3 separate regions of the Homo sapiens genome follow, and all the other regions are linked to region 3. Evidence: promoter capture Hi-C in human tissues and cell types (Jung and others, 2019). All regions are on one chromosome and are shown on one strand. The core of a region is centred on a gene start or on the middle of the fragment in contact, and the rest is flanking DNA. Distances in the headings are between cores, read along the strand shown.

The links. Contacts are between HindIII fragments. The study calls those that stand out against the background at their distance.
Region 1: a fragment that was not itself captured here is called in contact with the fragment with the promoter of FRMD5 in region 3 in 1 of the 25 tissues and cell types used here (dorsolateral prefrontal cortex).
Region 2: a contact is called between a fragment that was not itself captured here and the fragment with the promoter of FRMD5 in region 3, in 1 of the 25 tissues and cell types used here (H1 embryonic stem cells).

What each region holds. Positions count from the first base shown.
Region 1 is chr15:44,004,533-44,008,249 of GRCh38, forward strand. All of the region lies in intron 1 of FRMD5 (FERM domain containing 5), which reads right to left. Among named protein-coding and RNA genes, the nearest start is that of WDR76, 180 kb to the left of the region's middle. The HindIII fragment of the contact is 6,821 bases long and covers 1-3,717 here.
Region 2 is chr15:44,040,203-44,044,064 of GRCh38, forward strand. The region is part of intron 1 of FRMD5 (FERM domain containing 5); the gene reads right to left. Among named protein-coding and RNA genes, the nearest start is that of FRMD5, 150 kb to the right of the region's middle. The HindIII fragment of the contact is 3,758 bases long and covers 1-3,570 here.
Region 3 is chr15:44,193,667-44,197,368 of GRCh38, forward strand. FRMD5 (FERM domain containing 5) reads right to left here and starts at 1,605. Exons shown (of 14, transcript NM_032892.5): 1 at 1,287-1,605. The coding sequence starts at 1,388. RefSeq lists silencers at 936-995, 1,106-1,155, 3,390-3,625 and enhancers at 1,489-1,990, 1,991-2,490, 2,006-2,105. The HindIII fragment of the contact is 20,453 bases long and covers 1-3,702 here.

The sequences.
Region 1 (3,717 bases), core at 48-2,547, 190 kb before region 3:
TGTGATCCTTAATGTTACTACTATACTTGCTTTGGGGCACCATAAGCCATGCCCATAGAAGATGGCAAACTTAACAAATGTTTTATGTGTCCTCACAGCTCCATCAACCAGCTGTTCCCCCAACTCAGTCCCTCTCTTTGGGCCTCCCTATACCCTGAGACACAACAATATTGAAATTAGCCAATTAATAACCTTTCAATGGCCTGTAAGTGTTCAAGTAAGAGGAAAAGTCACATGTCTTTAACTTTAAATCAAAAGCTAAAAATGATTATGCTTAGTGAGAAAAGCAGGTTGAAAGCTGAGATAGACTGAAAGCTAGGCTTCTTGAGCCAAATAGCCAAATTTGTAAATGCAAAGGAAGAGTTCTTGAAGGAAATTTAAAGTGCTACTCCAGTGATCACATGAATAACAGGAAAGTAAAACAGTCTTCAGGCTGATATGCAGAAAGTTTTAGTGGTCTGGATAGAAGATCACACAAGACACAGCATTCCCTTTAATCAAAGCCAAATCCAGAGCAAGGCCTTACCTCTCAATTCTGTGAAGGCTGAGAGAGATAAGAAAGCTGCACAAGACAAGTTTGAAGCTGGCAGAGGTTGGTTCATGAGGTTTAAGGAAAGAAGCCATCTGTATTAAGTCCACTCTCATACTGCTATAAAGAAATACCTGAGGCTGGGTGTGGTGGCTCATGCCTGTAATCCAGCACTTTGCGAGGCCAAGGCAGGCAGATCATCTGAAGTCAGGAGTTCGAGACCAGCCTGGCCAACATGGTGAAACCCCGTCTCTACAAAATCAGCCGGGCATGGTGGCATGTGCCTGTAATCCCAGCTACTCGGGATGCTGAGGCAGGAGAATCACTTGAACCCGGTAGGTGGAGGCTGCAGTGAGCCGAGATCACGCCATTGCACTCCAGCCTGGGCAAAAAGAGTGAAACTCCATCTCAAAAAAAAAAAAAAAAAAAAAAGAAAAAAGAAATATCTGAGAGTGGGTAATTTACAAAGAAAAGAGGTTTAATTGACTCAGTTCTGCAGGCTATAAAGGAAATACAGCGGCTTCTATTTCTTGGGAGGCCTCAGGAAACTTACAATCATGGTGGAAGGCAAAGGGGAAGCAAGGCATCTCACATGGCCGGAGCACGAGGAAAAGAGTGAGGGGAAGGTGCTACACACTTTTAAACAACCAGATCTCATGATAACTCTTATCCCAAGAACAGCACTAGGGGGATGATGCTAAACCATTCATGAGAAGCCACCCCCACCAGATCCAATCACTTCCCACCAGGCCCTACCTCCAGCACTGGGGATTATCTTTCAACATGAGATCTGGGCAGGGACACACATTCAAACCATATCACCATCTCCATAACATAAAAGTGCAAGATGAAGTAGTAAGTGCTGATACAGAAGCTGCAGCAAGTTACCCAGAAGATCTACCTGAGATCACTTATGAAGGTGGCTACAACAGATTTTCAATGTAGATTAAACAGCCTTCCACTGGAAGAAGATGCCATCTAGGACTTTCATAGATGGAGTAAAGTCAACGTCTGGCTTCAAAGCTTCAAAGGACAGGCTGACTCAGATTAAAGGATAATGCAGCTGGTGACTTTAAACTGAGGCCCAATGCTCATTTACCATTCTAAAAATCCCAGGATCTTTAAGAATTATGCTAAATATATTGTGCCTGTGCTCTATAAATGAAACAACAAAGCATGGGTGACAGTACATCTGTTTACAGCATGGTTTACAGAATATTTTCAGTTCATTGTTGAGACCTGCTGCTCAAAAAGAAAAAAAAATCCTTTCAAAATATTACTGCTCACTGACACTCTACCTGATTACCAAAGAGATCTGATGGAGATGTACAGGAGATTAATGTTGTTTTCATGCTTGCTAACATCCAGTTGGTAGCCCATGGATCAAGGAGTAATTTGCACTTTCAAGTGTTATTTTAAGAAATACATTTCATAAGACTATAGCTGCATGAATAGTGATTCCTCTGATGGATCTAGGCAAAGTAAATTGAAGAACTGAATGCCATCATTCTAGATGCCATTAAGAACATCTGTGGCTCATGGGGAGAAGTCAAATTATCAACATTAACAGGAGTTTGGAAAAAGTTGATTCCAACCCTTGATTTCAAGCTGTCAGTGGAGGAAGTAACTGCAGATGTGGTAGAGATAGCAAGAAAACTAGAATTAGAAGTTGAACCTGAAGATGTGACTGAATTGCCGCAATCTCAAGATCTTATGGATGAGCAGAGAAAGTGGTTTCTTGAGATGGAAACTACTCCTGGTGAAGATGCTGTGAACATTGTTGAAATGACAACAAAGGATTTAGAATATCCCATAAACTTAGTTGATAAAGCAGTGGCAGGATTGGAGAAGATTGACTCCAATTTTGAAAGAAGTTCTACTGTGGGTAAAATGCAGTTAAACAGCATTGCATGCTACAGAGAAATCTTTCATAAAAGGAAGAGTCCACTGATGTGCCAAACTTCATGGTTATCTTATCTTATTATAAGAAATTGTCACAGCCACCTTCAGCAGCCACCACCCTGACCAGTCAGCAGCTGTCAACATCAAGGCAGGACCTTCCACCAGCCAAAAGATTTTAACTTGCTGAAGGCTCAGGTAATTGTTACCATTTTTTTTTTTAGCAACAAAGCATTTTTAAATTAAAATATATAAATGTTTTTTTCCAGCCATAATGCTATTACACACTTGACAGACTACAGTATAGTGAAACATAACTTTTATATGCACTGGGAAACCAAAAAATCTGTGACTTGCTTTATTGCACTATCCACTTTATTGCGGTGGTCTGGAACTGATTCTGCAATATCTCCAAGGTATGCCTACATATATATAAACCTCTGCTTTTAATGATACTGTGAGGGCCTAGAATTTCATTTGGAGTTAATGTACACATTTGACAAACTTGACTGTTTTGAGAACAATGTTTTTAATCCCTCAAGTTCTCTGTCTGCTGATCAAAATGGACATTAACATCCTAACATACTTTGCATTTTCCTAGTATCTACAAGGCCAGATATTTTTATCTTTTAATTTTTTGAATTTTTAAAATCTAATTTTTTTAATTAATTAACTAATTTTTTTTTTTTTTTTTTTTTTTTTGAGACAGAGTTTCGCTCTTGTTGCCCAGGCTGGAGTGCAATGGCGTGATCTTGGCTCACCGCAACCTCCATCTCCCGGGTTCAAGTGATTCTCCTGCCTCAGCCTCCCAAGTAGCTGGGATTATAGGCATGTGCCACCACCCCGGCTAATTTTGTATTTTCAGTAGAGACGGGGTTTCTCCATGTTGGTCAGGCTGGTCTGGAATTCCCGACCTCAGGTGATCCACCCGCCTTGGCCTCCCAAAGTACTGGGATCACAGGCGTGAGCCACTGCGCCTGGCTGCTAATTTTTTTTAAAGAGATGGGGTCTTGCTCTGTTGTTGTGGCTAGAGTGCAGTGGGATGATCATGGCTCACTGCAGCCTTAACATCCTGGGCTCTAGTGATTCTCTCACTTCAGCCTACTGAGTAGGTGGGGACAATCGGCAATTTTTTTTTTTTTTTTTTTTTTTTGTAGAGATGAGGTCTCCCTATGTTGCCCAGGCTGGTCTCAAACTCCTGGACTCAGGTGACACTCCTGCCTCATTTTTCTGAAGTGCTGGGATTACAGGCATGAGCCTGTAAGGCTTTATTTCTAGAAGCCTTTATT
Region 2 (3,862 bases), core at 442-2,941, 150 kb before region 3:
AAAGTAGCAGGGAGAATGGAACCAAGTTGGAAAACACTTCAGGATATTATTCAGAAGAACTTCCCCAACCTAACAAGGCATGCCAACATTCAAATTCAGGAAATACAGAGACCACCACAAAGATACTCCTCGAGAAGAGCAACCCCAAGACACATAATAGTCAGATTCACCAGGGTTGAAATGAAGGAAAAAATGTTAAGGGAAGCCAGAGAGAAAGGTCAGGTTACCCACAAATGGAAACCCATCAGACTAACAGCAGATCTCTTGACAGAAACCCTACAAGTCAGAAGACAGTGGGGGCCAATATTCAATGTTCTTAAAGAAAAAAATTTTCAACCCAGAATTTCATATCCAGCCAAATTAAGCTTCATAAGCAAAGGAGAAATAAAATATTTTACAGACAAGCAAATGTTGAGAGATTTTGTCACCACCAGGCCTGCCTTACAAGAGCTCCTGTAGGAAACACTAAACATGGAAAGGAACAACCAGTACCAGCCACTGCAAAAACATACCAAATTGTAAAGACTATCCACACTATGAAGAAACTGCATCAACTAACAGGTAAAATAACCAGCTAGCATCATAATGACAGGATCAAATTCACACATAACAATATTAACCTTAAATGTAAATGGGCTAAATGCCCCAATTAAAACACACAGACTGGCAAATTGGATAAAGAGTCAAGACCCATCAGTGTGCTGTATTCAGGAGACCCATCTCATCTGCAAAGACACACGTAGGCTCAAAATAAAGGGATGGAGGAATATTTACCAAGGAAATGGAAAGCAAAAAAAAAAAAAAAAAAAAAAAAAAAAAAAAAAAAAAAAAGCAGGGGTTGCAATCCTAGTTTCTGATAAAACAGACTTTAAATCAACAAAGACCAAAAGTGACAAAGAAGGGCGTTACATAAGGGTAAAGGGATCAATGCAACAAGAAGAGATAGCTATCCTAAATATACATGTACCCAATATAGGAGCACCCAGGTTCATAAAGCAAAGTTCTTACAGACCTACAAAGAGACTTAGACTCCCACACAATGATACTGGGAGACTTTAACACCCACTGTCAACACAAGAGAGATCAACGAGACAGAAAATTAACAAGGATATCCAGGACTTGAACTCAGCTCTGGACCAAGGAGACATCTACAGAACTCTCTACCCCAAATCAACAGAATATACATTCTGCTCAGCACCACATTGCGCTTATTCTAAAATTGACCACATAATAGACATCTACAGAACTCTCCACCCCAAATCAACAGAATATACATTCTGCTCAGCACCACATCACACTTATTCTAAAATTGACCACATAATTGGAAGTAAAACACTCCTCAGCAAATGCAAAAGAACAGAAATCATAACAAACAGTCTCTCAGACTACAGTGCAATCAAATTAGAACTCAGGATTAAGAAACTCATGCAAAATCGCACAATTACATGGAAACTGAACAACCTGCTCCTGAATGACTACTGGGTACATAATGAAATGAAGGCAGAAATAAAGATGTTCTTTGAAACGAATGAGAACAAAGACACAACGTACCAGAATCTCTGTGACACATTTAAAGCAGGGTGTAGAGGGAAATTTATAGGACTAGATGCCCACAAGAGAAAGCAGGAAAGATCTAAAATCAACACCCTACCATCACAATTAAAAGAACTAGAGAAGCAAGAGCAAACAAATTCAAAAGCTAGCAGAAGACAAGAAATAACTAAGATCAGAGCAGAACTGAGGGAGATAGAGACATGAAAAACCCCTCAAAAAAATCAATGAATCCAAGAGCTGGTTTTCTGAAAAGATCAACAACATAGATAGACTACTAGCCAGACTAATAACGAAGAAAAGAGAGAAGAATCAAATAGATGCAATAAAAAATGATAAAGGGGATATCACCACCAATCCCAAAGAAATACAAACTACCATCAGAGAATACTATAAACACCTCTAAGCAAATAAACTAGAAAATCTAGAAGAAATGGATAAATTCCGGGACACATACACCCTCCTAAGACTAAACCAGGAAGAAGTTGAATCCCTGAATAGACCAACAACAAGTTCTGAAATTGAGGCAGTAATAGCCTACCAATCAAAAAAAGTCCAGGACCAGATGGATTCACACCCGAATTCTACCAGAGGTACAAAGAAGAGCTGGTACCATTGCTTCTGAAATGATTCCAAACAATAGAAAAAGAGGAAATCCTCCCTAACTCATTTTATGAGGCCAGCATCATCCTGATACCAAAACCTGGCAGAGACACAACCAAAAAAGAAAATTTTAGGCCAATATCCCTGATGAACATCAATGCGAAAATCCTCAATAAAATACTGGCAAACTGAATCCAGCAGCACATCAAAAAGCTTATCCACCACGATCAAGTCAGCTTCATCCCTGGGATGCAAGGCTGGTTCAACATACGCAAATCAATAAACGTAATCCATCACATAAACAGAACCAATAACAAAAAGCACATGATTATCTCAATAGATGCAGAAAAGGCCTTTGACGAAATTCAACAGCCTTCATGCTAAAAACTCTCAATAAACTAGCTACTGATGGAACGTATCTCAAAATAATAAGTGCTATTTCTGGCAAGCCCACAGCCAATATAATACTGCATGGGCAAAAACTGGAAGCATTCCCTTTGAAAACCGGCACAAGACAAGGATAGCCTCTCTCACCATTCCTATTCAACATAGTATTGGAAGTTCTGGCCAGGGCAATCAGGCAAGAGAAAGAAATAAAGGGTATTCAATTAGGAAAAGAGGAAGTCAAATTGTCCCTATTTGCAGATGACATGATTGTATATTTAGAAAACCCCATCGTCTCAGCCCAAAATCTCCTTAAGCTGATAAGCAACTTCAGCAAAGTCTCAGGATAAAAAATTAATGTGCAATAATCACAACCATTCCTATACACCAATAACAGACAGACAGCCAAATCATGAGTGAACTCCCATTCACTATTGCTACAAAGAGAATAAAATATCTAGGAATACAACTTACAAGGGACATGAAGGACCTCTTCAAGGAGAACTACAAACCACTGCTCAAGGAAATAAGAGAGGACACAAACAAATGGAAAAACATTCCATGCTCATGGATAGGAAGAATCAGTATCATGAAAATGGCCATACTGCCTAAAGTAATTTACAGAATGAATGCTATCCACATGAAGCTACCACTGACTTGCTTCACAGAATTGGAAAAAACTACTTTAACTTTCATATGGAACCAAAAAAGAGCCCGCATTGCCAAGAGAATCCTAACAAAAAAGAACAAAGCTGGAGGCATCACGCTACCTGACTTCAAACTATACTACAAGGCTACAGTAACAAAAACAGCATGGTACTGGTACCAAAACAGATATATAGACCAATGGAACAGAACAGAGGCCTCAGAAATAACACCACATGTCCACAACCATGTGATCATTGACAAACCTGACAAAAACAAGCAACAGGGAAAAGATTCCCTATTTAATAAATGGTGTTGGGAAAACTGGCTAGCCATATGCAGAAAGCTGAAACTGGATCCCTTCCTTACACCTTATACAAAAATTAATTCAAGATGGATTAAAGACTTAAATGTAAGACCTAAAACCATAAAAACCCTAGAAGAAAACCTAGGCAATACCATTCAGGACATAGGAGTGGGCAAAGACTGCATGACTAAAACACCAAAAACAATGGCAACAAAAGTTAAAATTGACAAATGGGATCTAATTAAACTAAAGAGCTGCTGCACAACAAAAGAAACTATCATCAGAGTGAACAGGCAACCTACAGAATGGGAGAATATTTTTGCAATCTACCCATCTGACAAAGGGCTAATATCCAGAATCTACAAAGAACTT
Region 3 (3,702 bases), core at 355-2,854:
TATGCCCAGAGCTGGTTTCGAGGGGAGGGAGAAAAGGGAAAGTGAGGAGAAGGCTGAACTGAGCACGGAGTCAGCAGAGACCAGCTGCTCTCATACACTACCCAGTGTCTTTCTCACACACCGCTATTTTCCGCGATTGAGCACTGTCAGCAAAAATAAATAAATAAGGAGGCGGGGGGCAAGAAGACACTGAGGGTAGGACCCAGGCCGACAGTTTTTGTCTGTCACATCTGAGCCAGAAGCCTCCTCCTGTTTTCCTGCTGCAAAGGCAAAGGATCAGGTGAGACCCCTCTGGGTCCAGCTCAATTAGCTTCTCCACAAAGAGCAGCTTCCGGCGATGAGCGCAGGATCCTCCTGGCTGATGAACTAAACACGGGAGCATTGTCAATGTTTTCAATCTCTGACTTTTTCATAAGGGAGGAGAGAGGGCTGTGACTGCATTCCCGGGAAAGACTACTACTCCTGACGTGCACACAGCAGTAGCGAAGGAACATGAGCAAGAGGTTGTAAAAATCCCTTCAAAAATACCAGGTTCTGAAAGAAATGCTGTTGAGCATTACCGTATTGTTGGCGTTTTTCCTAAGTCGCCGATTCTTCCTGGCCACTTCCAAGCCCCAAATCGCTGGGACTTGTTGCTAAATCTTTACCTCACGTCCCCTAGAACCGCCCAACACAATAAAATTTGGGGATCAAAAGGCGGGAGGGGGCCTAAATCTCTAAAACCCAGAGGACTGGGCTTCCTTCAATAGGCCACTCCGCATGGGCTGCGCGTTCAGTTCTACCTTCTGAAAGCTCTGACTCACAAATGGTGGGGGGAGGAATTATGACATAAACCATTATCCTTCCAACCCAAGAAAGATAAGAAAAGCCAGCCATACGTCCTTGCCCGGGCAGAGAGCCAAAGCCTGCGCCCCCGACGGGGCGGCCGGGCTAGGAGCCTACCGCCCTACCCGCCTCCCTCCGGGCGCCCCGGAAAGGTGCACCTTACTCGGGCGGGCTCGAGGAACCAGGACGGGGCGCCCTCACCCAGGGAGAGCAGGGTAGGACTTAGGGGTGTGGGACGCGGAGACTCGCCCCGCGGCGGCGGTGACACACCGGGTGCCAGGGCTCCGGCAGGGGCTCCGGTGAAGACGCCCTGCACTAGGGCGGTCCGCCGCAACCAGGAACGGACAAAGCACGGCGCTGGGGCTGGGGCGACCCCTGGGCGGCGGCCGCCGCCGGCCAAGTTGACCAGACTTGGGGGACAAGGGGGTCCCGCGGGCGGGGCGGGGCGGCGCGGCGCTGACCTGGATGGTGCAGGTGTACTCGCTGTCGTCCAGCAGCCGCACGGTGCAGCTGTACTCGCGCTCCAGGCTCCTGCTGCTGCCGCTCATCAACCTGCTCAGCATCTTCCCGCCCGCCCGCCCGGGAGCGACGCGGCGGCGCTGCGGACCCTGGACCAGGCGTCCCTCAGCCCGGCAGCTCCGCACCGACCCCAGGCACCTGCACCATCACCCCGGCCCCGTCGCTGCCGTTGCCTCCTGCTGGCCTCGTTCCTCCTCCTTATCCTCCTCCTTCCCTCAGCCGCCACCGCCTCCCCCCAGCCCAGATCAAGCGCCGGGCTCTGTCTCCTCGGCGCCCCAGTGCCCGTGCCCAGCTCGCGGGGCGGGGCCTCAACTGGAGGGGGCCAATGGGGGTCAGCGCGGCGGAACCGAGTGGCAGACCGAAAAGCCAATCGAGATAGAGTACTGGGATGATGGGCGGGATAAAGAAGCAATCACAGAAAAGCAGTCGGACCTAGTCAAGCCGGAGCAGCCCTCTAGCGTCCCAAACGAGGGGTTCCTCTCCGCCCCGTGGTTCCTATGGATGCTGTTTCCCCTCCCCCGGGCCAGGTGTGAGCACCCAACTGGATTGATGTCTGCCGCCTGAAATACACTTGATCTGCGTTTCCGAAGCCAAGCCTCGCACCCTGCAACACCGCGGTTCCCGCCCTCTTGGGAGCCGGAGCGAGGAGGCGGCAGGGTGCTGGATCACAGTCCCTGCACCTGCAGAATGCGGATACCTCTCGCTCCAGATAGGGCGACTGCCCCCGACCTGTGCTGTACCCTAAGTTGGCCCGTCTGGCCTCTGTGCTCCAGCCCTCTTATTTTGGGAAACAGGAGCTACTTAAATAAAAGCTAAAGGGACCTCAGAGGTTCTGAAGTACCCAGGTTTAATCCCCTAAAAAACCCTCCACTCTAACACCCTTTGCCTCCTTTTTATTTCAGAAGACAAAAGGAGACTGCTCCTTCAGCTGGTAGGGAGCAGAGGAAGCAATGAATCTTCTCCTTGCACTTTTAGAACTGGAAATTATGTCTTCAGACTTTCTCAATAGAACAACATAGTATGTCAGGAGGTATACATCACAAAGAATTGTCTCCTTCTCTTTGTCACCCCAAATTTACAGACTTCAAGGTTTTTTACCAGAACTTCAATAAGAGATATTCTCCCTCAAAGATTTTTGATGTGAGGAAATGTTATAAAATAATTATGTCGGCCGGGCGCAGTGGCTCAAGCCTGTAATCCCAGCACTTTGGGAGGCCGAGGCGGGCGGATCACCTGATGTCAGGAGTTCGAAACCAGCCTGACCAACATGGTGAATCCCCGTCTCTACTAAAAATACAAAAAAATTAGCCGTGCATGGTAGCACGCACCTGTAATCCCAGCTACTCGGGAGGCTGAGGCAGGAGAATCGCTTGAACCCAGGAGGCAGAGGTTGCAGTGAACCAAGATCACGGCCATTGCACTCCAGCCTGGGGGACAAGAGCAAGCCACCGTCTCAAAAAAAAAAAATAATCGTGTCAACATAGAACATTAATGCTGTAATAAATATATTAATTTAAAATAATGAAATAGGCATAATTTCCTATTACTTTCATTTGCACTGTTCTTGTTTATAGGTATAATGTGTAACAAAAATGAAACTCTACATTAGCCTAGAAAACTATCCCGCCTTTAAAGTATGCTTCTTCCCTAGTGTCTTTGGATTCCAATATTTTCCCCAATTTTTTTTTTTTTTTTTGCATGGGGAGATTCATTCTCTTTCATTCTCTCTCTCTCTCTCTCTTTCTCTCTCTCTCTCTCTCTCTCTTCCTCCCCCTCTCCCTCCCCCTTTTTCTTTCTATCACCTTAGTAACCTGGACTGCTCTTAATTGGTTGCATTCTCCTTTGTGGCATTTAATAGCCATAGGAGCAGGATTCTCTTTTCAATGCAATTTGGATGGAGTTAGTTATGAGTCTAGAACTAGTAAGTCAAGTGTTCCAGGCATAAAACCAGGCATGCGCTCCACTACTTTGTAGCTTCAGCAGGTAGTCTGATGCCTGAAACATAATAGGTATTCAATAAGTGTTGAACTGAATACAAAAATTAGCCGGGTGTGGTGGCATGCGCCCGTGGTCCCAGCTACTGGGGAGGCTGAGGCAGGAGAATCGCTGGAACCCGGGAGGTAGAGATTGCAGTGAGCTGAGATTGTGCCACTGCACTCCAGCCTGGGCAACAGAGCAAGACTCGGTCTAAAAAAAAAAAAATTGATGAACTGAAGTAAATGGAATTGACAGGTGTTCTACAGCACTTAAATCCCAGAGGAAGAAGACCTGTGAAGAAACTCAAAATTTCAGGAAGATCTTGGAGACAAGTAAAATTATTAATATGCCAAAGTGATATTCTACAAAGCTCAGCTTTGT